Regions from separate parts of the Homo sapiens genome. Here all the other regions are linked to region 1. Evidence: promoter capture Hi-C in human tissues and cell types (Jung and others, 2019). All regions are on one chromosome and are shown on one strand. Each heading gives the region's core, a stretch centred on a gene start or on the middle of the fragment in contact. The rest is flanking DNA. Distances are from core to core; before and after follow the strand shown. Region 1 holds the start of FLRT2 (fibronectin leucine rich transmembrane protein 2). Region 2 has its middle 230 kb from the start of SNORD3P3. Region 3 has its middle 140 kb from the start of SNORD3P3. Region 4 overlaps LOC105370604 (a long non-coding RNA gene). Region 5 has its middle 58 kb from the start of SNORD3P3. Region 6 has its middle 34 kb from the start of SNORD3P3. Region 7 holds the start of SNORD3P3 (small nucleolar RNA, C/D box 3 pseudogene 3).

Region 1 (3,027 bases), core at 240-2,739:
TTGTCCTAAAATGTGATCTTCCTTGTTGATGCTGGAGCTTGAGGAGCTATCCCTATGCTCTGCTGCCACCTTGGAAACTCAGAAGGATTTACAACGGAGTTCTGCACAGGGGAAGCTGGAAGCAGCATTCCCACAGCCTCTTCTGGGGCTGGCAAGGCTCAGAGAGGCATTTGAAATGGCTATTATTGACACCCATAGACTTGGGTATGTTTCAGAGAGAAACTATAACATCTATCTCATGGGAAAACACACTTTCTCTGTTTTTAAATAACTCCGTTTCAGCAAGATCCATGTGTGTAGCCTCTGAATACTCTATAAAGGCTCCGTATTTCTTTCTTTCTTTCCTTAGTCCGGAATGGAGACAGAAGAAAGATTCGGTTGAAGATGTCCCTGTGTGGATCTCAGTTTGCGCTCTGAGCGACGTCCTGGCTCATTTGGGTGTGACGGTGAGAGCAGAGGCGCTCTGCTGACAGTTTTTTCTTGTCTAAGCTTCCATTCCGCATCCACAATATGACTCGCCTTCCACTCCAGTTAACTTCTTGGAAGTCCAGAGCACTTAGTCAAAGCTGTTTACAAAATGCAAAGCATCTGGGCGGCCAAGGCAGAGGCTCCTGTGTTCTCTATGTAACCGCCTCCAAAAAAGCTGGGAAATTTCGCGGATCAAAATGTAGGCGCTTAAAGCTGACCCTCTGCTGTCAATGTTGGGACTTAGATACATTTTTTGCATCGTCATTCTTGTGTGTGTTTCCCGTTTATTCCATTCTAAGGCTCAGGCTCGCGCTGTTTCTCTCGCGCGCGCTGTCCCCTCTCTCCATTTCCCATTCACACATCAAACTCCGTCCTCCGCACCCCTATCTTCCCGTGTCTTCTTAGTTATGTGAATGTGTGTCATTAGGCTTACTCGGACACTGGATGGGTGAGTGGGAGGCAGCTTTTCTTGCGGTTTCATTTACACTTGGCATGGGTGGGTGGGTGCCCTCCACAATTCGTCTCGCACACGGAACACAGTTAAAATCTGTAGCTAGAACGAGTGAAAAGTTCCGAATCTTTAAAGCGCAGCTAGGACAGGAAATAATACAGGGTTGGGGGATGTGGACGGGGGCGGAGAGCAGAGAAGTAAAGGAATAAAACCAACTTCGCTGGCAACTTCAATAAATCCGGTAACTGGAGGCAAAAAATAGACTCCGAGGGCTGGGTCTGGTCCGGATGAAACGCTAGGGCTCCTTCCCTTCCTTGAATCTTGGGCGCTGGAAGCCAGCCACGGGCGTCTTGCCACGCGAGTGCCCCTAGACAGCAACACACCCACTGGAAACGCACGTGAACAAAGCTCTCGCCCCCGGGAGCCGCTGCCTGCGGTTTCCTAGTCGATCCCAGCTTCTCTAGGGAGTGTCAGGCGCACACAGGGTTAAGTTAGTTCCCTCCCTGGTAGGAGGGAGAGGAGGAGGAGGGGAAAAGCAGCATACTGTCTCAGGCTGGGTACCTTGTAGTTAGTTGTACGTTCGAAACCTGTCGCCGTCACTTGCGCGTTTGGCATTATCCATTGTCACCGCGGAGGAACGAGCGCTCGAGATATCATCAGTGCCCGCAAATCTCCGCGCCAAGGCGCTGAGCTACTCCTTTCCGAGGTGCGCCTCTGGTCCTCCGTCCCTGGTGCCCAGCAGCGGCGAGGCGGCATCTCCGCTCCCGCCGCCGTGTCCACCGAGCCCTGGGATCAGGGTGGCAGTTCTCAACGATGGGCAGGAGGGACCTCGGCGGCGACCCCTAAAACAATACCATGCCCCGGGATCCCCGCTGCTGCCGCGCCAGCGTCTTCCCTTTCCACCTCCCTGACCCTGTCGGATTCGGATGAGCCCATTGCAAGGAGAAGACGCAGCCGTCAGGTAAAAGGGGCTGCGTTGCCAGGTGAAGTTTCCAGTAACCGGCCGAGCTGCTGCTACGCTGGCACCACGCTGTCTCTTCGGGGGATTTTTTTTTTTTGAAAGAGCTGGGGGTGGTCATCTTAAGTGGGGTGCTCTAGGCTTTGTCTTTCACCTGGAGAGAAAATAGGCAGCTTAGCTCTCTCTCGACTTTGGGGACATCTGTCTGCTGGTCGAATCCACCTCCTCTACGGAGCATCATGACTGAGTTCTGGGTCAAAACGCAAATTTTCTTGCCTGGTAGATGCATCGATGCTAAATTGGGGTTCTCAGTGCCCCTAACCTTGTCAGAGTTCAGTCTCCTACTTCCCTAGATTGAATCTCTTAACTTTCACCAGTAACAACCCTCTCCCCTCCACAAGCTGTTGTTAATGTCACCAGCGTTATTATCAGGCTGTTGTATCTAAAGACACCAACCTACTACCTGCCCGTAATCTGGGATCTATTAGCAGTTAAACAGATGCGGTGGATACTAATTCCTTTTCCTTCCAGTTGGTGGGGGCGGGTGGGGCTTTTTCCAAAACCAAGTCCCTTCCAGCCCTGCTTGTCCTCTTCGGGCTGGCGGGCACTGAGCTGGGGCCATCACGCCTTTCTAGAGCGCCTGCGGAGGTGGCGAAGGCTTGGAGAGCATACGAGGCGGAATCCGGATCGAGTGAGTTCCTTGAGCCGCTTGCGTGGGACGCAGGGAGAGGGCGAATAACGCCCTCAGGCGCTGAATGCAGGGGCAAGGAGCCAGCGAGGGTGGCTGGAGCAGGCCTTGCCAGCTGTTACCAAGTCTCTCCACAGGCTTGGGGGCTTGGGGCCTCCTGGAAAGATCCCTCCGCCGCGCTGACCAGTACGGGGCTCGCTCCCGCACTTTGAAGGCTGCCGCGGTCTTTCGTCATTTATAATCAAGCCCAAGATCAAGGTTGCAAGCTGAGGTCGGGGTACTGACAACGGGAATGAAGCCATAGGGGAAGAGGATAACTGGGACGGGCTGGACCCATACTTGATACCCGGGAAACTCCTAGAGCGTGTGGTGCTCCTGCCAGCGGCAGTTACTGGTGGAGCTGAGGCCACCGCTACTGTCGTCGTTGGCGCTTTGCTTCTGGAACCTCCCAGCAAGATGGCA
Region 2 (3,027 bases), core at 141-2,640, 490 kb before region 1:
AAACTTACTATCGTGGTAGAAGGGCGAAGGGGAAGCAAGAACCTTCTCCTGACAGCAGGAGAGAGAGAGAGTGAAGGGGGATATGCTACACACTTTTCAAACAACCAGTTCTCATGAGAACTCACTCACTATCAAGAGAACAGCAAGGGGGGATGTCCGCCCCGTGATTCAATCACCTCCCACCAGGCCCCTCCTCTGACACATGGGAATTACAATTTGACATGAGATTTGGTTGAGGACACAGAGCCAAACCACATTAAGGGCTTTGAGTATTTTGAGGAGTAGTAGCAAGTATTTTGTACAATACTCCACACTGGAATTTTTCTCATGTTTTTCTCATGATAAGGCTGAGGTTATGGGTTATCTGGAGAAAGATCTCAGAGGTAAAGTGCTATTGCCATCATATCATATTCAGAATACATACTATCAACATGATATGACTGTTGTTGGGCTTTATCACCTGAAGTATGTAGGGTTTGTCCTTTTTCTCCACTGTAAATTTTCTCTTCTTCTCCTACCCCACCCTAATTTTTATATGCTTTGGAAGGAAGTCACTGTGTTTAGCCCACACTTACAGAGAACAGAATTAATCTCCCCCTCTTTGAAGGCAGAGTATTTACATAAATTATTTGGAATTCTTCTATATGGGAGATTTGTTTCCTTTCCTCCATGTATAAATTTACTCATTCATTTATATCAGTATGGACTCATAAATATTTATTTTATACTTTGAGTTATAATGAGCATGTTATTTATTAATGTGCATACTGTAAGAATTTAATATCCACCAACTCAATGTGGGATTCCCAAACAATACTCTGATGTCCTTCTGGGAGACAGTGCTCTGTGAGTCTCTCCATGAAATTCTACATATATGTCAGGCAGAGACACTGTATTAGTCAAGATTCTTCAAAGACACAGAACCAATAGGATGAATGGATGGATAGATAGATAGATAGATAGATAGATAGGGGATAAAGGAGATTTATTAGAGGAATTGGCTCGTGTGATTATGGAGGTTAAAGAGTCCCATCAAAAGCTGTCTGTAAGCTGGGGACCCAGGGAATCCAGTGACATGGTTCAGTCCAACTCCAAAAGCCTCACAACCAAGGAAGCCAATGGTGTAACTCTCAGTCTGAGGCCAAAGGCCCAAGACCTCTGGGCAATTGCTGGTGCAAGTCCCGTAGTCCAAAGACTAGAGAATCTGGAGTCCTAATGTCCATGGGCAGGAGAAGAAGGGTGAACCAGCTTCAGAAGAAAGAGCAAATTTGCCTTTCCTCTGCTTTTTATTCTCTCCAGGGCCCCCGCTGATTGGATCGTGCCCCCCAACATTGAGGGCTGATCTTTCATACTAAGTCCACCAACTCATAGGCCAATATCTTCCAGAAATGCCCTCACAGACACACCCAGGAACAACGCTTTACCAGTTATCAGGTATCTTTTAATCCAGTCAAGTTGGCAGTTGAAATTAACCATCAAAGACACTAACTCCCTTTTTGCTTTAGACTAAAATGTCAGGAATGTTTGGGTACCAAACAGCCTTACATGATAGAAGTACTATGTACCTCCAGGGCAGAAGGCAGTTGTTTTTACTGCTCTATATAAAATACTTGGGTCCCCTAAGGTCAGAATTACTCATGTATGATGCTAACCCATTGTGTGGGTGGTGTCTCTGTAGACTCCTCTACATTGTCCTTATGGGATTCGGGAGCAAGGTGAATTGGTGCTCATGATTGTTTTGCTCTTAGTGATAAACTCCTTTGTCTTTTACCCTGCAGTCTAATGACTTTTTTAATGACAAGCATTCAAAAAGTTGTGCTGTACTAACTTCTTAGCTTGCAAGCAAGGTAACATCTCAGGTCCTTCAGAGTTCTTGACAACCCCGCATAAAAAACTCACCAAAAAAAAAAAAATTAATGCTCACAAACAAATATGTCTACCACTCTCCCATGTCAAAGTTTTAATGTAATTTACATTCAACTGCCAGCGTCCCCCACCCACCTCCTTGCACTGATGGCACCTGCACTCAAAGTCACTTGTAAGAGTCTCACCTTTGCCCTGGCATATGAAGCCACATAGTAAGCCAGTGTCTGTGCCAAAGGCACTGAGTCTCATTGCTCACAAAGCTCAGACTCCTGGAGTGAGACTAGTGCTGGCTATGAGAAGCAGCAAAGAAAATATCTCCCCCTCCAATTTGATGTTCCACACAATCTGATACATGAATCCAAAGTACTTCTTTAACCTAGAATCGAGAAACCCTATTTTTTTTAGAGAGTCTTGCTCTGTCACCAGGCTGGAATGCGGTGGTACAATCTCGACTCACTGCAACCTCTGCCTCCCAGGTTCAAGTGATTCTCTTGCCTCAGCCTCCTGAGTAGCTGGGATTACAGGCACCCACAACCACGCCCGGCTAATTTTTTGTATTTTTAGTAGAGACGGGGTTTCACTATGTTGGCCAGGCTGGTCTCGAACTCCTGACCTCAGGTGATCCACCGGCCTCGACCTCCCAAAGTGCTGGGATTCCAAGCATGAGCCACCACGCTGGGCCCAAAAACACTTTCACGTGCATGTGGTTCTTCTTTCTGCATCTAGGTTTCAAAAACATTTGGGAATTTCCTAACTAAAGTTACCCGTAATGGTTGCAGATATCTCTTACTCAGTCTAAAGGTTTTCTCTAAACAAAGCAAGGGTGTGAAATTTGGTTTCTGCAGATGTAGGTTTTGTGCAACACTTAGGGTTATTTTGGTCATGAATAATAGAAACCACAACCCAAATTGGCTTATGTTAAAAAAGAATTAATTTCCCTTCTTAACAGATTGAATTAAAAAGAAAAAAGGCCATGCAAAGCTTGATCCGGTTTACACATGTACTTAGCCTGTTGTTCTCAATGGCAGTATTTTTTTCAGCCTGCAAGGGTACGGTTTCATTGCAAAGCAGACCATGTGTGGCTTCAAGATGGCTGCAAATAGCTACCAGGAACAGATGCTCTCTCATTTCTCATTTTCTGAATGGGAGAGAGTATGTCTC
Region 3 (3,027 bases), core at 334-2,833, 400 kb before region 1:
ATCAAAGGATATAACAATTGTAAATATATGTGTGCCCAATATTGGAGCATCTACATATATAAAATAAATGTTAAAAGATCTGCAAGGAGAGATAGATTGCAATCAAATAATAATAGAGGAATTCGGTCCTTCACTTTTAAAAATGAATAGATCATTTCATACAGAAAATTAAGAAAACATTGGACTTGGACACTTTAGACCAAATGGATCTAATGGACAAATATGAAACATTCCATACAATCTCAATAGAATACACATTATTTTCTAGTGTGTGCAAAACATCCTATAGAATAGATCATGTGTTAGGGCACAAAACAAGCCTTAACAAATTTAAGATTAAAATTATATCAAGTATTTTTCCTCCAAAAATAATATCAATGTAGAAATAAATAACAGAAGGAATTTTAGATAATTTACAAATATATGAAAATTAAATAAAATAGTCCTAAACAACCTATGGGTCAATGAAAAAATTTTAAAAATAGTTTTTTAAAATTTTGAAACAAATGAAAATGGAAACACATCATACCAAAACTTTTGGAATATATAGCAAAAGCAGTTTTAAGAGGAAAGTTTAAAGCAATAAAAGCGTACATTAAAAAAGAAGAAAGATCTCAAATAAACAACCTAACATTACATCACAAAGAATGAGAAATAGGGCAAAGTAAGCCCAAAGTTACTAGAAGAAAAAAATAATAAAAATTAAAACAGAAATAAATGAAATAAAAACTTAAAAAAAAACAGACAAGATCCAAAAAACTGAGAATTGTTTTTTGTAAAGATAAAATTAATAATACCTTAGTTAGACTAATTAAGAAAAAAATGAGTGAAGACTCAAATGAATAAAATTGTAAATGAAAGAGGGGGACATTACAAGTGACACCACGTAGATCAAAGGACCATCAGAAACTACTATAACAATCGTATGCCACAAACGTGGATAACCTAGAAGAAATGGATGCAGTCCTAGAAACTACAAGCTACCAAGACTGAACCATGAAATAATAAAATACATGAACAAATTAATAATGAATAAGGAGATTTAATCAATCACCAAAAATTTCCCAACAAAGAAAAGCTCAAGGTCAGATGGCTTCACTGGTGAGTTCTACCATTTTAAAAAGAATAAATGTCAATTCTTCTTAATCTATTCCAAAAAATTGAAGATGACGGGATACTTCCAAACTAATTTCATGAAGCCAGCATTATCCTAATAACAAGCCAGGCCAGGACACCATAAGAAAAGAACATTGCAGGCCAATGTCCCTGATGAACATAGATGCAAAAATCCTCAACAAAATGCAGCCATTCATCTATATCCATAGGGTACTGTTCCCAGGATCTTCCACAAATATCATAATCCACAGATGCTAAAGTCCCTGATATAAAATTGCATAGCATTTGCATATAAGCATATATATACCTGCCTGTATGTTTTGTCCTCTGAAGCTTGTTTATAATATCTAATACAATGTAAATGTCATGTAAGTAGTTGTTATACTATATTGTTTAGGTAATAATGACAAGAAATGAAAGTCTGAACATGTTTAGTACAAATGCAATTTTTTTCCAATTTTCTTCATCTGTGGTTGGTTGAATCCATGGATGATGAACCCATGGATATGGATGGCCAACTGTTCTAGCAAACTGAACTCAATAGCACAATAAAAGGATCTCACAACATAATCAATGAGACATATCCCTGTAATTCAAGGATGGTTCAACATACATAAATTAATCATTATGATGTACCCCATTAACAGAATGAAGGATAAAAATTATATAATCATCCCAATAGGTGGGAAAAGTCAACATACGTTCTTAATGAAAATTTTCACCAAAGTATTTATAGAGAAAATGTACCTCAATATAGTAAAAACCATATATCAAAGGCCTACAGCTAACATCTTACTCAATGGTAAAAAGCTGAAAGCTCTTCCTCTAACATGAGGAATAAGGCCAGACACAGTGGGTCACCCCTGTAAACCCAGCACTTTCGGAGGCCGAGGCAGGCAGATCACCTGAGGTCAGGAGTTTGAGACCAGCCTGGCCAACATAGAGAAACCCAGTCTCTACTAAAAGTACAAAAAATTAGCCGGGCAAGGTGGCAGGTGCCTGTAATTCCAGCTATTTGAGAGGCTGAGGCAGGAAAATCTCTTGAATCCAGGAGGCAGAGGTTGCAGTGAGCCGAGGTTTTGTCATTGCACTCCAGCCAGGGTGATAGAGGGAGACTTCATCTAACAACAACAACAAAAAAAAAAACGAAGAAGAAGAAGATAAGAATGTCGATTCTTGCCACTTCTATTCAACATAGTACTGAAAGACCTAGTCAGGTCAATTAGTCAGGAAAAAAAATTTTTAAATTAAAACATCAAAATTAAAATAAAAAATAAGTAAAATTATATCTGTTTGCAGGTGGCATCATCTTATATATAGAAAACCCTAAAAACTCCACATGAACAAAACTCGTTAGAACTAAAAAATGAATTCAGGGAAGTTGTAAGATACAAAATCAACACAGAAGAATCAGCTGCCTTTCTATACACTAACAACAAAGTATCTAAAAAAAAATGAAGAAAGCAATTCCATTGATAATGCATCCAGAAGAATAAAATACTTAGGAATAAATTTAACCAATGAGATTTAAGATCTGTTCACTGAAAATTATAAAACATTGACTAAAGAAGTTGAAAATATAAATATATTAAAAGATATCCTACAATAATGAATTAAAAGGATTAATATTGTTAAAATAGCCATACTAACCAAAGTAATCTACACAGTCAGTACAATCTCTATAAATATAAAGTCCAATGGCATTTTCCACAGAAATAGAAAACGAAAACAAAAAATTTGTGTGAGACCACAAAAGCACCAAAATAGTCAAAGCAATCTTGAGAAAAAGGAACAAAGCTAGCTAGAGACATCACACTTCTATATTTCAAATTTTATTACAAAGCTGTAATAATCAAAATTGTGTGGTATTGACATAAAAACAGACACATAGACCAATGGAATAGAAATGCC
Region 4 (3,027 bases), core at 320-2,819, 350 kb before region 1:
TGAATTCAGATTAATAAACAAAGCATTACTAGCACCCTGGAAATCCTCTGTTTTAGTTAGGGTTCTCCAGAGAAACAGAAACAATAGGATGTGGGTACATTCTTTACATTTATAAAGAGATTTATTGAAGGAACTGGTTCATGCAGTTATGTAGGCTGACAAGTCCTAAGATCTTCAGGCTGAGTCTTCTAGACCAAGGAGAGCTAATGGTGTGGTTGCAGGCCAAAGGCCAGCAGGCTCCAGATCCAGGACTAACTGATGTTTCACTTCAATTCCCAAAGTAGGACAAAGCTGGTGTCCCAGTTCAAATGAAGTCAGGCAGGAGCAATTCACTATTTCTCAGAGGAGGGTCAGACTTTTTGTTTGTTTGTTTGTTTGTTTAATTTAGGCTTTCAACTGATTGGATGAGGCTCACCCACTTCAGGGTGGGCAATCTGCTTTACTCAGCTTACTGATTTAAATGTTAATCTCATCCATAACCACCCTTATAGAAATACCCCATATAATGTTGGGCCATTTATATGGGCACCCCATGTCCCAGTCAAGTTGACACATGAAATTATCTATTACACCCCCTCAGCGTAAATGCATAAACACACACATACACACACACACACACACCCCACCCCCCACACACACCCCTACCTTACAGTATCTACATTTTTTTGTTTGATCTTTTTCACTCAACAGTATACTTGTGAGTTGTTGCAGTCATTTTATTATTAGTTCTGTACCCTATTTCATTTTGGGGAAATATACCAAAATATACTTATCTCATTTTACTATTAATGAGCATTTGGGGAGTTTGCAATTTGTGCTGCTCATACTTTTTTTTTTTTTTGGTTGACCATCTATGGAAATTTCTATAGGCATATACTTAGGGATGGAATTGCTGGGCTATGACAGTTGATTATGATCAGCATTAGTATATCTTCTGTAAACAGACCATTCAGTCCAGGAAAACTTCCATATTGGATGATGTAGCAGAATTTCCAGGATGTCTAAGTTTCTGTTGCTCAATCCTCTTACCAAGAAAATATGTGCATGAGGATAATGCCAAAGATTACAGAACAGATGCTCATCTCCCTGGATTATCAATTTTTATGTCATAAAGACCTCAGATACCAAAGCCCACAGGCCAATGCACTTATTTGGAGGTTGTTAAACTGATATCATATGTTTATGCAGGAATATCGCCAATTTGTGGTCCTTTGCATTTTTTGACTAATTCAATAGGGTTATTTTTTTCTAACTGCTTTAAGAATTCAAAATTTATATAAGTACTATTCAGTGTCAGAAATTTAGAAAATATAGATAAAATGAAATGAACGTTAAAAATCTTCTGTGAATTTATAAATTAAAACTTTAATCATCTTGAAGCCCTTAAATGGCCAAGGGATATATCCCTTGCCTCAAACTATACTTCTGGTTCCTTAGCATGGACCTTTATGATATGACCTCTGCCTTAATGTTTTTCATTTATGGCCTCATTCTCTGTGAACCACTTCTATTTCTAGGACTATTTCAGGCTATTTCTCATTCTGGGTATTGAACACCAACCTTCTCCCCTTCCTGTGAGAGGGTATTACAAGCCCTATTTTACAAGACAGAAAAGAATCAGAGAGAATAAGTCACTAGCAAGCATCACACAGGAGAGCCAAGTTCCAACCCACATCTCTCTCTTTCCATGCTGAATTATTTAGCCATTCTTCTCCATTACTCTTACTGTCCCTGGTAAAGACTTCTCTGGCCTCCCAAAATTGTATAAGACATTTTTTCTTTGTGTTCCAATAGCCACCTGTGCACATAATCTTAATACATTCACTTCCTTGCTTAAAGTGTTACCATCATTTCATTTTAAGCTGCATGAGGGTAGGCTCTGCCTTCTTGACAGAAATCTCAAATAGCTGCCATTCATCATCTCATCTTGTGGTTTTGCTTTTTCTATGCTCTTTACTCTCTGAAAATTATATCAATGGCATGTTTACTTGTTTATTATCTGTTATGCAGGCTCCTCACTGACTGGGGATTTTGCTGGCCTGCACACCACTGTTTCCCCAGCACTCACAGATGTGCTGGGCACATGGCAGACCCCAGAGAATAATTAAAATGAATAAATAATGGGCACTAATATATTTAATGGGTAAACACACTATGCACATTTATATTTGTACTCTTTACGAGGGCCCTAGATTTCATCCTCATGCAAATAAATCATTGAAGGGATGGGATTTACATGGTTGTTTACCTTTTCTAAAAAGAAAAGGGCGGTAGTCCCCATGCTGTCCAGAGGCCATACTGAATGCTTATTTTTGTGAGTCTGAGATATGAGTGTCTTTCTTGACATTAAAATATTAATTATTAATGTAATTATCCTTGAATAATGCTCAGTGGAAACATGTATTAGTCTGCTCGGGCTGCCACAATAAGATACAACTGGGTGCCTTAAACAACAGAATTTTACTTACTTATAGTTCTGGAGGCCACAAGTCCTCGAAAGAGGTCCAGCAAGGTTGGTTCCTGGCCAGAGCTTTCTTTCTGGCTTGCAGACAATCCCCTGATCACTTTGTCCCCACATGACCTTCCCATATGCATGGAAAGAAAGCAAAGGAGCTCTCTGGTGTCTCTTCTTTAAGGTGGCTAATCTAATTGAAGCAGGCCCCACCCTGTTGACCTCATTTCACCTTAATTACCTCCTTATGGATCCTGTCTCTAAATATAGCCATATTTAGGGTTTAGGGTTCAATATAAACATTTGGATAGAACACAATTTATTCCATAGTCGAAGGCATACTATTGCAATCTGTCAGGCATTCCAGTTGTGATAAAATCCTTCCTTCTTGAGCTAAGTACAGGCATTTCATGTGAAAAATCTTGTCTAAGAGACATTTGAAGGATTGTTTGATGTGTTAGAAGCTCTTTCAGTATTAATCTGCTTCAAGTACTCCTGCATGTCTGCCTATTGCCCCAAATCACTGGGTAATATGGGAGGTAGAATTTGTGGTCTTCTATGAAAGATGGAGATTT
Region 5 (3,027 bases), core at 360-2,859, 320 kb before region 1:
TTTGGCTGCATAAATGTCTTCTTTTGAGAAGTGTCTGTTCATACCGTTCGCCCACTTTTTGATGCAGTTGTTTGTTTTTTTCTTGTGAATTTGTTTGAGTTCATTGTAGATTCTGGATATTAGCCCTTGGTCAGATGAGTAGGTTGCGAAAATTTTCTCCCATTTTGTAGGTTGCCTGTTCACTCTGATGGTAGTTTCTTTTGCTGTGCAGAAGCTCTTTAGTTTAATTAGATCCCATTTGTCAATTTTGTCTTTTGTTGCCATTGCTTTTGGTGTTTTAGACATGAAGTCCTTGCCCATGCCTATGTCCTGAATGATATTGCCTAGGTTTTCTTCTAGGGTTTTTATGATTTTAGGTCTAACATGTAAGTCTTTAATCCATCTTGACTTAATTTTTGTATAAGGTGTAAGGAAGAGATCCAGTTTCAGCTTTCTACATATGGCTAGCCAGTTTTCCCAGCACCATTTATTAAATAGGGAATCCTTTCCCCATTGCTTGTTTTTCCCAGGTTTGTCAAAGATCAGATGGTTGTAGATATGCGGCATTATTTCTGAGGGCTCTGTTCTGTTCCATTGATCTATATCTCTGTTTTGGTACCAGTACCATGCTGTTTTGGTTACTGTAGCCTTGTAATATAGTTTGAAGTCAGGTAGTGTGATGCCTCCAGGTTTGTTCTTTTGGCTTAGGATTGACTTGGTGATGCAGGCTCTTTTTTGGTTCCATGTGAACTTTAAAGTAGTTTTTTCCAATTCTGTGAAGAAAGTCATTGGTAGCTTGATGGGGATGGCATTGAATCTATAAATTACCTTGGGCAGTATGGCCATTTTCACAATATTGATTCTTCCTACCCATGAGCATGGAATGTTCTTCCATTTGTTTGTATCCTCTTTCATTTCATTGAGCAGTGGTTTGTAGTTCTCCTTGAAGAGGTCCTTCACATCCCTTGTAAGTTGGATTCCTAGGTATTTTATTCTCTTTGAAGCAATTGTGAATGGTAGTTCACTCATGATTTGGCTCTCTGTTTGTCTGTTATTGTTGTATAAGGATGCTTGTGATTTTTGTACATTGATTTTGTATCCAAAGCAAAAGATTTTAAAGGTAGAATTGCAAAATGAAAACAACCTGGGTCCCTGAGTCACTATGTGGAGCAGTAGAGCTGCAGAGGAGAGCTATCTAACCTACATTGGACTGTAACATTAGTGATAAATAGATCTGTATCTTGCTGGTTAAGTCACTGAGATGTAAGAATTTATTTGTTACTGAAGAACATCCTAGCCCAAAATTGTAGGTAGGAGGATAATGTGATATTGTGATATGGTTTTGGAAAATTGTTTTTTTCTCCAAATAAATGTAAGCTCACTTCAGTAAATTTAACTTGAATTGAAATAGAAACAACTAGCCAACAATATGTGCTGTTCACTTTATCCCTACAAGATGTTGCAATACTGTTGAGTGAGGGCAAGGATAATATAAATGAAATGGTGCCAATGAATGAGAAAGTTTTCGTGATTTGAGAAATTCAGATAATATAAAAGTCCAAGACCTTATATGTAATATAAAAGTTATGTATATTCATGACTCTTCTTGACTTATCACCCTTCTTGATGAACATTAAGATGGTAACTGAAATAAGCTTCCTGGTATTTGCTGAGATTTGTGATTACAGGAAGAGATGATGAATGAGAATGAGAATGTCAGGGCAAGGTGTCTGTACAAGTTGACAACCCATGGAGAATGCTCATAAACTTCTTATCATGCATCTTCAAGTGTGTTCTGTATAGTATCTGTTACATAATGTCATTATATTTATTGTATAAAACTATAATACATAGACATAAATATTCTATAATTTGTCAATATGACCATTGAAATCTGGAAGAAACATGGGTATTTTCAAAGGCCAAGGAGATACAAAGACCTAGGGATGAAATCTTACCAACATCTGGCAAATGAGACATAGGTCAATGTTACAAATATTATTATTATTAATATTCTTTATTTCAAATCACATATGGTTACAATTGCCTTATTGCTATTAAAGTATTTCCAAGATCTTTATGGCTTATTAAAACAGTACACTTGTTGTGTAATTGTAAAAACAATTAATTATTTGAATGGGATTACATCAAGTTAAAAATCTTCTGCACAGCAAAGGCAACAATCAACAAAGTGAAGAGACAATCTACAGAATGGGAGAAAACAATTTTCAAGCTATCTATCTGACAAAGATATAATAACCAGAAAATATAAGGAGCTCAAACCACGAAATAGCAAAGAAAAATTTTTTTTGATTAAAAAATGAGCAAAAGATTTGAATAGACATTTCTCAGAAGAAGACACACAAATGGTTAATAGGTATATGAAAAATGTTAAACATGACTAATAATCAGAGAAACGCAAGTCAAAACCACAATGAGATATTATCTTACCTCAGAATGACTCTTATTAAAAAGTCAGGAACTAACAGATGCTGGTGAGGCTGTGGGAAAAAAAGAGCTCTCCTACACTATTGGTGGAAATGTAAATTGCCAAGGTGGGCTGATCACGAGATTAGGAGATTGAGACAATCCTGGCCAACATGGTGAAACCCCGTCTCTACTGAAATACAAAAAATTAGCCAGGTGTGATGGTGCATGCCTGTAGTCCCAGCTACTCGGGAGGCTTGAGGCAGGGGAATCGCTTGAACCCAGAAGGCGGAGATTGCAGTGAGCCAAGATTGCACCACTGCACTCCAACCTGGCAGTGAGACTCTGTCTAAAAATAAATGAATAAATAAATAAATAAAATAAATGGAGGTTCCTCAAAACACTCAAAATAGAACTATCATATGATTCAGTAATTCCACTACTGGTTATATAACCAAATAAAATATATCAATATGTGGAGAACAACATATCTGTGCTCTCATGTTTAATGCAGCATGATTCACAATAACCAAAATATGGAATCCACATAAGTATCCATCACTGGATGAATCAATAAAGAAAATGTGGTAGATAGACACAGTAGAATATAATTCAGCCAAT
Region 6 (3,027 bases), core at 373-2,872, 290 kb before region 1:
CCTCATCATATTTGTAATTAATATCTGCCACATATACACTGTTTTTTCTGCCTCTTCTTCAATTTGGGAAGTATCCAGTATCATCCTATGTGGCCAACCCCATAATCCTTTATTAAATCTTTTCCTTGATTTCCTGGATCCTGTAGACATCTCTTAGCCCCTCAGAATCGTTTCCAATCAGAATATTCTTACATGCAAAATGGATTGAAGACTTGAAAATGTGACCTTTCTCAGCTTGGACTCTGATCACGCATATTAGAAACAGTGAAAAAAAACTGATGATTTTTATTATTTGACATTAACGTTTAATTTCATGTAGAAACTTTGTGACTGTAAGTAATGAGCTCAAATGCTTTTAAGCAACCTGGTTATAATCTATCAAAGCAGCTGTGTGAAAGTTGGCAATGAAGAATAAAATAAACATTCAAAAATATGAAAGTATACAGCTTTCTATATATTAACATGGTAATGGATGAGATGGTTTTGGAAAAGTAAGTAACTGGGTTACTTTATTTGTCATGAGATATTTATAATTTTAATTTCTGCTGTACTTTTAAAGTCAAATATAATAAATGGGGCTTAAAGCAACTGAATTTGTTTTGTTCTGTTTGTATTGTTGCTTTTGTTTTTAACTGAAGCATTTTAGAAAATGTGTATTCCACTCCCAGTGTCCTCTTTATAGATAGGGTCATTTCTAACACCCTAATTTGGGTTTCATTACATGTTGTCGTTCCATTGTAGAGTACCCAGTCTTATACAGCCATACCTGACCCTAAGCAATTACAGAGAATACACAGAGTTCAACCAAAATAGAAAATAAAAGCATGAATGCACTTGTATTCCCATGTAAGGAAAAATACTTGGGGCAAGAAAAGTAGACTTCAGGACAAAAATATAAGCAGACCAAGATATGAGATCCCATTATTTATTGAGCACCTTCTCTCTCTCTCTCTCTCTCTCTGTGTATATATACACACACATATATATGTCTATATATACATATATACACATACATACATATATACATACATATATACATACATACGCATGTGTGTTTGTGGAGATATACATATGTGTGTGTGTATATATACATATATGTATATCAGTCATTGAACCAGCTGATTTACAAGTAATATCTTACATAACCCTCTCCAAACCAAAATAAGATGTAGAAATATTGTTCCCATTTTATAAGTATGAAAATTGAATCTTGGAACGATTAGATAGGCCAAAGTCACAAAAACTGTGGTAGAGTTTCACTTGGAGTCCAAATTAGTTAGAAACCATTCTAAGTATGTTTAAAACTATTTCATGAACAAATAAAATATTGCTCAGATCAAACACTACCCTGTCCCCTCAACAATAAAAAAAATGGAAATGTTGAATGAAAAAAACAAAAGGAATATGACCCCAAGGAAAACATCCAGCACTTTCCAAATGAAGGCTAACTTGGAGAATGAAAGTAATTCCTATCTTGTTTTCCAAAGAAAACAAGCAGAATATTCAAAGGCTAGAAGAAAATCACATCCAGGACTTGATTAAGAAATGATTTAAGATTCTTCTAACTCCCATATCAATCTGTGTTTAGGTTTAGATGTGCCCCAACTAGTATTATTTCTAATTACACATTGCACTAATATTATTTCTGGTATCCAACAAAAATTTTTTAAAAAGTCAGAAACAAAGCAACTGTTAATTTGCAAGGGGAAAAACCTCTAAAATATTTAGAATTCAGTTAAATGTAATTCATATTGGAAATATTTCAAGTTTTGCCTTTATCTTAAGTTCTGATTTTGACTGTTAGACTTTTCTACATTTCAGAACATTCCAAATACTTGTCAATTTATTTTAACTTCTGGAAAAACGTAAGAGAAAAACCATTTATAAAAGCAACTGAGCAGCTGATAGAGTCTACATTGACTCAACCAAGAGTTCACAAATGTTCTTTGGTAACAGAAAAGGTAAAAGAAGTGTGGAATTTGATCTGAAGATTATATATTTTAATTTTGGGAATATTGATCCATTGCAAATGAAAGTGGAAGTCCCATTTTCTCTAGCTTGACTAAAATGGTTTCCCACAAAGACTCTGGGACCATATTAACATCTTCTATCTTATGTAAATTAGAAGTTAATGAACATAAAAACCATTAGTCTTCACTTATGTTCTAGAATTGAATCGATGCAATTGATTTTAAAGTTCAGAAGCACTCCATGTTTCAGTAAAGCATATAGAGGCTTTTAAGACTCTGATTTAGCACTATAAACAAGCCCATCAGATTGATAAGAATTCCCAGAAGAAACAGAAAGACAGCAGTTACTGAGCTTGGAATTCTACATGCATGACATGAAATCCTGCTTCTTTTCTTAACTTCATTCCTGACCTACTGAGGAGACAGGGTAAGTTATGCAAAACAGAACATAATGAGGTTCTTGTGTTCAAATTACATGAAGTCTCCATTCTTCCATAAAACTACACACACACACACACACACACACACACACACACACGGAGAGAGAGAGAGAGAGAGAGAAATAATCATATAGGTGCTAGAACATATTCTATAACTTACATAAAACAAGTTGAATTTTCATTTGAGTTTGAGGAGAAATATTATGGACCATGTTCAGTGGTGACCCAGTAACTCTTTCTGAATAATAACTCTTTCTGCTCCCCCACTGGGATTTCTGGGAGCTTTGCATTTACCTCACAGTGGTATGAGCCATGTGGTCACATCCTATAAAGTCATCACTTTCTAAGGTCACCAGATGTATGGAGAAAAGGCCAAGCAGGCTTCTTACTGAAGTCTTTAACCCCAGAGTCAACAACAGTGCACCATCAATTTAGTTAGAAAACAAGAATGACTTAGTGTCCCATTTCTGAGCAAAGATTTCTTCTGAATTAAGCCTCGTTTTTATTTAAAACAAGCAAACAAATGAGCAAACACTGCCAGATTGGAGTTGTAGTCTTCTCTTTTAACAGATGCAGTTGATTTCTCCAAACAAGTACTATTTCTTTGAAGTATACTT
Region 7 (3,027 bases), core at 255-2,754, 260 kb before region 1:
TGAGAGATAATTCAATAAGTCATGTCATTTAATTCTCCCCCAAATTTCCAACTGCCTTAGTCTATTCAGGCTGGTGTAAGAAAACACCATAGGCTGGGTAGCCTGTAACAACAGAAACATATTTATCACAGTTCTAAAGGCTAGGAAGTCCAAGATCAGGGTGCCAGCATGGTCAGGTTCTGGTGAGGGCCCTCTTCCAGATACAGACTGCCAATTTCTTGCTGTGTCTTCACATGGTGGAAGGGGCCAGGTAGCTCTCTGGGGCCTCTTTTGTAAGGGCATGAATTCCATTCATAAGGACTCTACCCTCATGACCTAATCCCTTCCCCCAAATCCCCACCTCCTAATACCATCACCTTGGGGGTTATTTTAACATACAAATTTGAGGGGGACATGAACATTCAGAGCCAGCACCAACCAAGATGCAACTTATTATCTCCATTTTATAGATGATAAGACTGACTGAGAAATAAGATATCTTGTTCAGGAGCACAACGATGGAGATAGTCAGAGCCCAGATTGTAGTAAGCCAACTTCTTTTGGCTGCACCTCCTGACCTTTCAAATGACAGGCTAACACAAATGAACTCTATTTTATACTATACAGGTTTTACCTTTAGCCTCTCTAACAACTTTTCAAACACATTTATTCCCCAGCCTACCAAATATTCAACTTCAAGCTTCGGTCTACCTTAGATATTTCATATTTAACTAAAGTTTCAATTTTCAAGTCAATATTCCTAGCCACAGGCTCTCTCTCCAGTTCCAAACCTACGTTGCCCATTGTCCATTGGACACTCCTATCTTTCCTTCATATTTGTATTTTAGGTTCATAATAATTGGCACCCAGTAGTCTCTTTTCCTCTTAAAAACTCTTTCCCAACATAGTTATTTCTGCTGAAGGGTCTACTAAGTCCCTAGTCATCCAGGCCCAAAAAATCAGTCATATTGGCATCTTCTTTTTCTTTTATCCTTTGGACTAAATAAATTAACAAATCAGTCTGCAGAATTTATCCTCACAATGCCTTTCACAGTCATTGCAACCTTGCAATTCCCATTGGTTCCAATTATCACCTCCTGTTTTAAGCATTCCTCTGATATTATTTGCTTAAGAAGCCATTGAGTAGCTGTCCTTATGGTCCTGAGTAAATTTTCTCTATCATTCACTCTCATAACATTCTGTTTTTTTCCTAGCACTTTTAACAGTTGGAAATTATATTATTTACTTGTTTTATTATTTAATAGCTGTCTTGTCTACTAAAGTGTAACTTTTGTGAAAGCAAGGATCGCTTCTTCATTCTACCACCTATGCCCCTCTCAACGTCTGACACACAGGAGATGTGCTTAGTAAATATAGCCAAGTGAATAGTCTTTCCAAAAATCTACTTCCCATTTCTGTTCGCAATACCTCCTGCATTCAGCTGTCAGAGAAATGTTTCTTGAAGTGTAGCTCTAAGAAGCCATTTTTCTAGTTTAATCATCTATTATTTACCTATTGCCTATTAAGTTAGTTATTAACTACTACTAGTTCTAGCATTCAGACTCATAGGGTCCTCTGCAATGTGAATACAAACTACACTTCTATGCACAATTCCCTTACTCTCTTTGTCTCTAAATCAAATGCTGTTTAGTTTTCTGTCTCTATGCCTTCTGTGTGTGTTTGTAGCATCTTCCAGAATGTCCTGTCCCTGTATCAGTCAGTTTAAACTACATTTTTCTCTAGTAATGAATAGATTCCAAACCTCAGTGGGTTAAAACCACAGAGGTGTATTTCCCACTCACATTTCCTGCTTATCATGTTTGCCTGTGGCTTTTTTCCTTGCCCCTCCATTCTCAGAATAAGCTAATAGAGCAACTCCTCTCTAGAACACAACAGTCACTTGGCAGAAGGAACAGAGAGATGGTGGGACTCTGAAAGCTTTTTCTTGGAAATGGTGAACATTTTATTAACGAAAGGCAGTTATTTGACAAAATCTAACCTTAATGGAGTAAGGAGTATAATACCTCTCCATGTACTGGCCCAGTATGGAGAAGTGGTGAATATTTTCACTGCAATACTGTATCAGTCTGTTCTCACGCTGCTAATAAAGACACATTTGGGACTTGGTAATTTATAAAGGAAAAAGGTTTCATAAACTCACAGTTCCGCATAGCTGGGGAGGCCTCACAATCATGACGGAAAGCGATTAAGGAACAAAGTCACGTCTTACATGGCGGCAGACAGGAGAGAGCTTGTGCAGGGGAATTCCCATTTATGTAACCGTCAGATCTCCTGAGACTTATTCACTACCATGAGAACAGTATGGGGGAAACTGCCCTTATGCTTCAATTATCTCCACCTGGCCTTACCCTTAACATGTGGGGATTATTACAGTTCAAGGTGAGATGTGGGTGGGGACACAGCCAAACCGTATCAAATACCATCTACTTCACCTTTCTATCTCAGTCATTAAAATGCTAATTATCCAAGACTATACTTTCAGGGATCATTTCTATAGTTTGTTACTAGAGAAGTTTCTCTGAACGTGTAGAGCACTAAAATGCTAATTATCCAAAGAGACCCATGTCACTGAGATGCTTTTCCCCATTCTCCCAGCCAATACTACATTGAAAACACAAAGCATATTACTTAAACCTATCTTCTAAACTTATTTTTCTCTACTTTTCTTATTCTATCATTCCTCAAAACCCCATATTCCGATTGCAAGTTTTACTAAGACCTGGTGGCTATGGCATGTAACACTCAGCAAAATGCCTTGAACACAGTAGATGTTAATAAATGTTTATTGAACGTAGTTGATTTAATCACAAGTAATGAGACATTGAATACTTTTATGCTAAGAAGAATATGAACAAACTATATTTCAAGCTGATTAATATGGTAACTGAAACAGTATTTGCTTCTTTAAGCATCTTGGTTTATTTTCTTATGTAAATATGTTCCCACGATGTACAGGGTGCACAGAGCTAATTACCTTCCTTTGCTTGGTATGCAACAGACCAGAAAACCTAAAATTATTCTAATCCA

The links. Contacts are between HindIII fragments. The study calls those that stand out against the background at their distance.
Region 2: a contact is called between a fragment that was not itself captured here and the fragment with the promoter of FLRT2 in region 1, in 1 of the 25 tissues and cell types used here (IMR-90 fibroblasts).
Region 3: a contact is called between a fragment that was not itself captured here and the fragment with the promoter of FLRT2 in region 1, in 1 of the 25 tissues and cell types used here (lymphoblastoid cells).
Region 4: a fragment that was not itself captured here is called in contact with the fragment with the promoter of FLRT2 in region 1 in 2 of the 25 tissues and cell types used here (hippocampus and mesenchymal stem cells).
Region 5: a contact is called between a fragment that was not itself captured here and the fragment with the promoter of FLRT2 in region 1, in 2 of the 25 tissues and cell types used here (H1 embryonic stem cells and mesenchymal stem cells).
Region 6: a fragment that was not itself captured here is called in contact with the fragment with the promoter of FLRT2 in region 1 in 1 of the 25 tissues and cell types used here (H1 embryonic stem cells).
Region 7: a contact is called between a fragment that was not itself captured here and the fragment with the promoter of FLRT2 in region 1, in 1 of the 25 tissues and cell types used here (mesenchymal stem cells).

What each region holds. Positions count from the first base shown.
Region 1 is chr14:85,528,655-85,531,681 of GRCh38, forward strand. It overlaps FLRT2 (fibronectin leucine rich transmembrane protein 2), which reads left to right and starts at 1,490. Exons shown (of 2, transcript NM_013231.6): 1 at 1,490-1,880. FLRT2-AS1 (FLRT2 antisense RNA 1) reads right to left here and starts at 3,005. Exons shown (of 2, transcript NR_184170.1): 1 at 1-3,005. The HindIII fragment of the contact is 3,489 bases long and covers 1-3,027 here.
Region 2 is chr14:85,036,036-85,039,062 of GRCh38, forward strand. No RefSeq gene overlaps it. Among named protein-coding and RNA genes, the nearest start is that of SNORD3P3, 230 kb to the right of the region's middle. The HindIII fragment of the contact is 6,540 bases long and covers 1-3,027 here.
Region 3 is chr14:85,132,627-85,135,653 of GRCh38, forward strand. No RefSeq gene overlaps it. Among named protein-coding and RNA genes, the nearest start is that of SNORD3P3, 140 kb to the right of the region's middle. The HindIII fragment of the contact is 3,623 bases long and covers 1-3,027 here.
Region 4 is chr14:85,174,712-85,177,738 of GRCh38, forward strand. The region is part of intron 3 of LOC105370604 (a long non-coding RNA gene); the gene reads right to left. Among named protein-coding and RNA genes, the nearest start is that of SNORD3P3, 96 kb to the right of the region's middle. The HindIII fragment of the contact is 8,149 bases long and covers 1-3,027 here.
Region 5 is chr14:85,212,217-85,215,243 of GRCh38, forward strand. No RefSeq gene overlaps it. Among named protein-coding and RNA genes, the nearest start is that of SNORD3P3, 58 kb to the right of the region's middle. The HindIII fragment of the contact is 4,104 bases long and covers 1-3,027 here.
Region 6 is chr14:85,236,834-85,239,860 of GRCh38, forward strand. No RefSeq gene overlaps it. Among named protein-coding and RNA genes, the nearest start is that of SNORD3P3, 34 kb to the right of the region's middle. The HindIII fragment of the contact is 6,552 bases long and covers 1-3,027 here.
Region 7 is chr14:85,269,466-85,272,492 of GRCh38, forward strand. SNORD3P3 (small nucleolar RNA, C/D box 3 pseudogene 3) reads left to right here and starts at 2,467; the gene lies at 2,467-2,596. The HindIII fragment of the contact is 3,942 bases long and covers 1-3,027 here.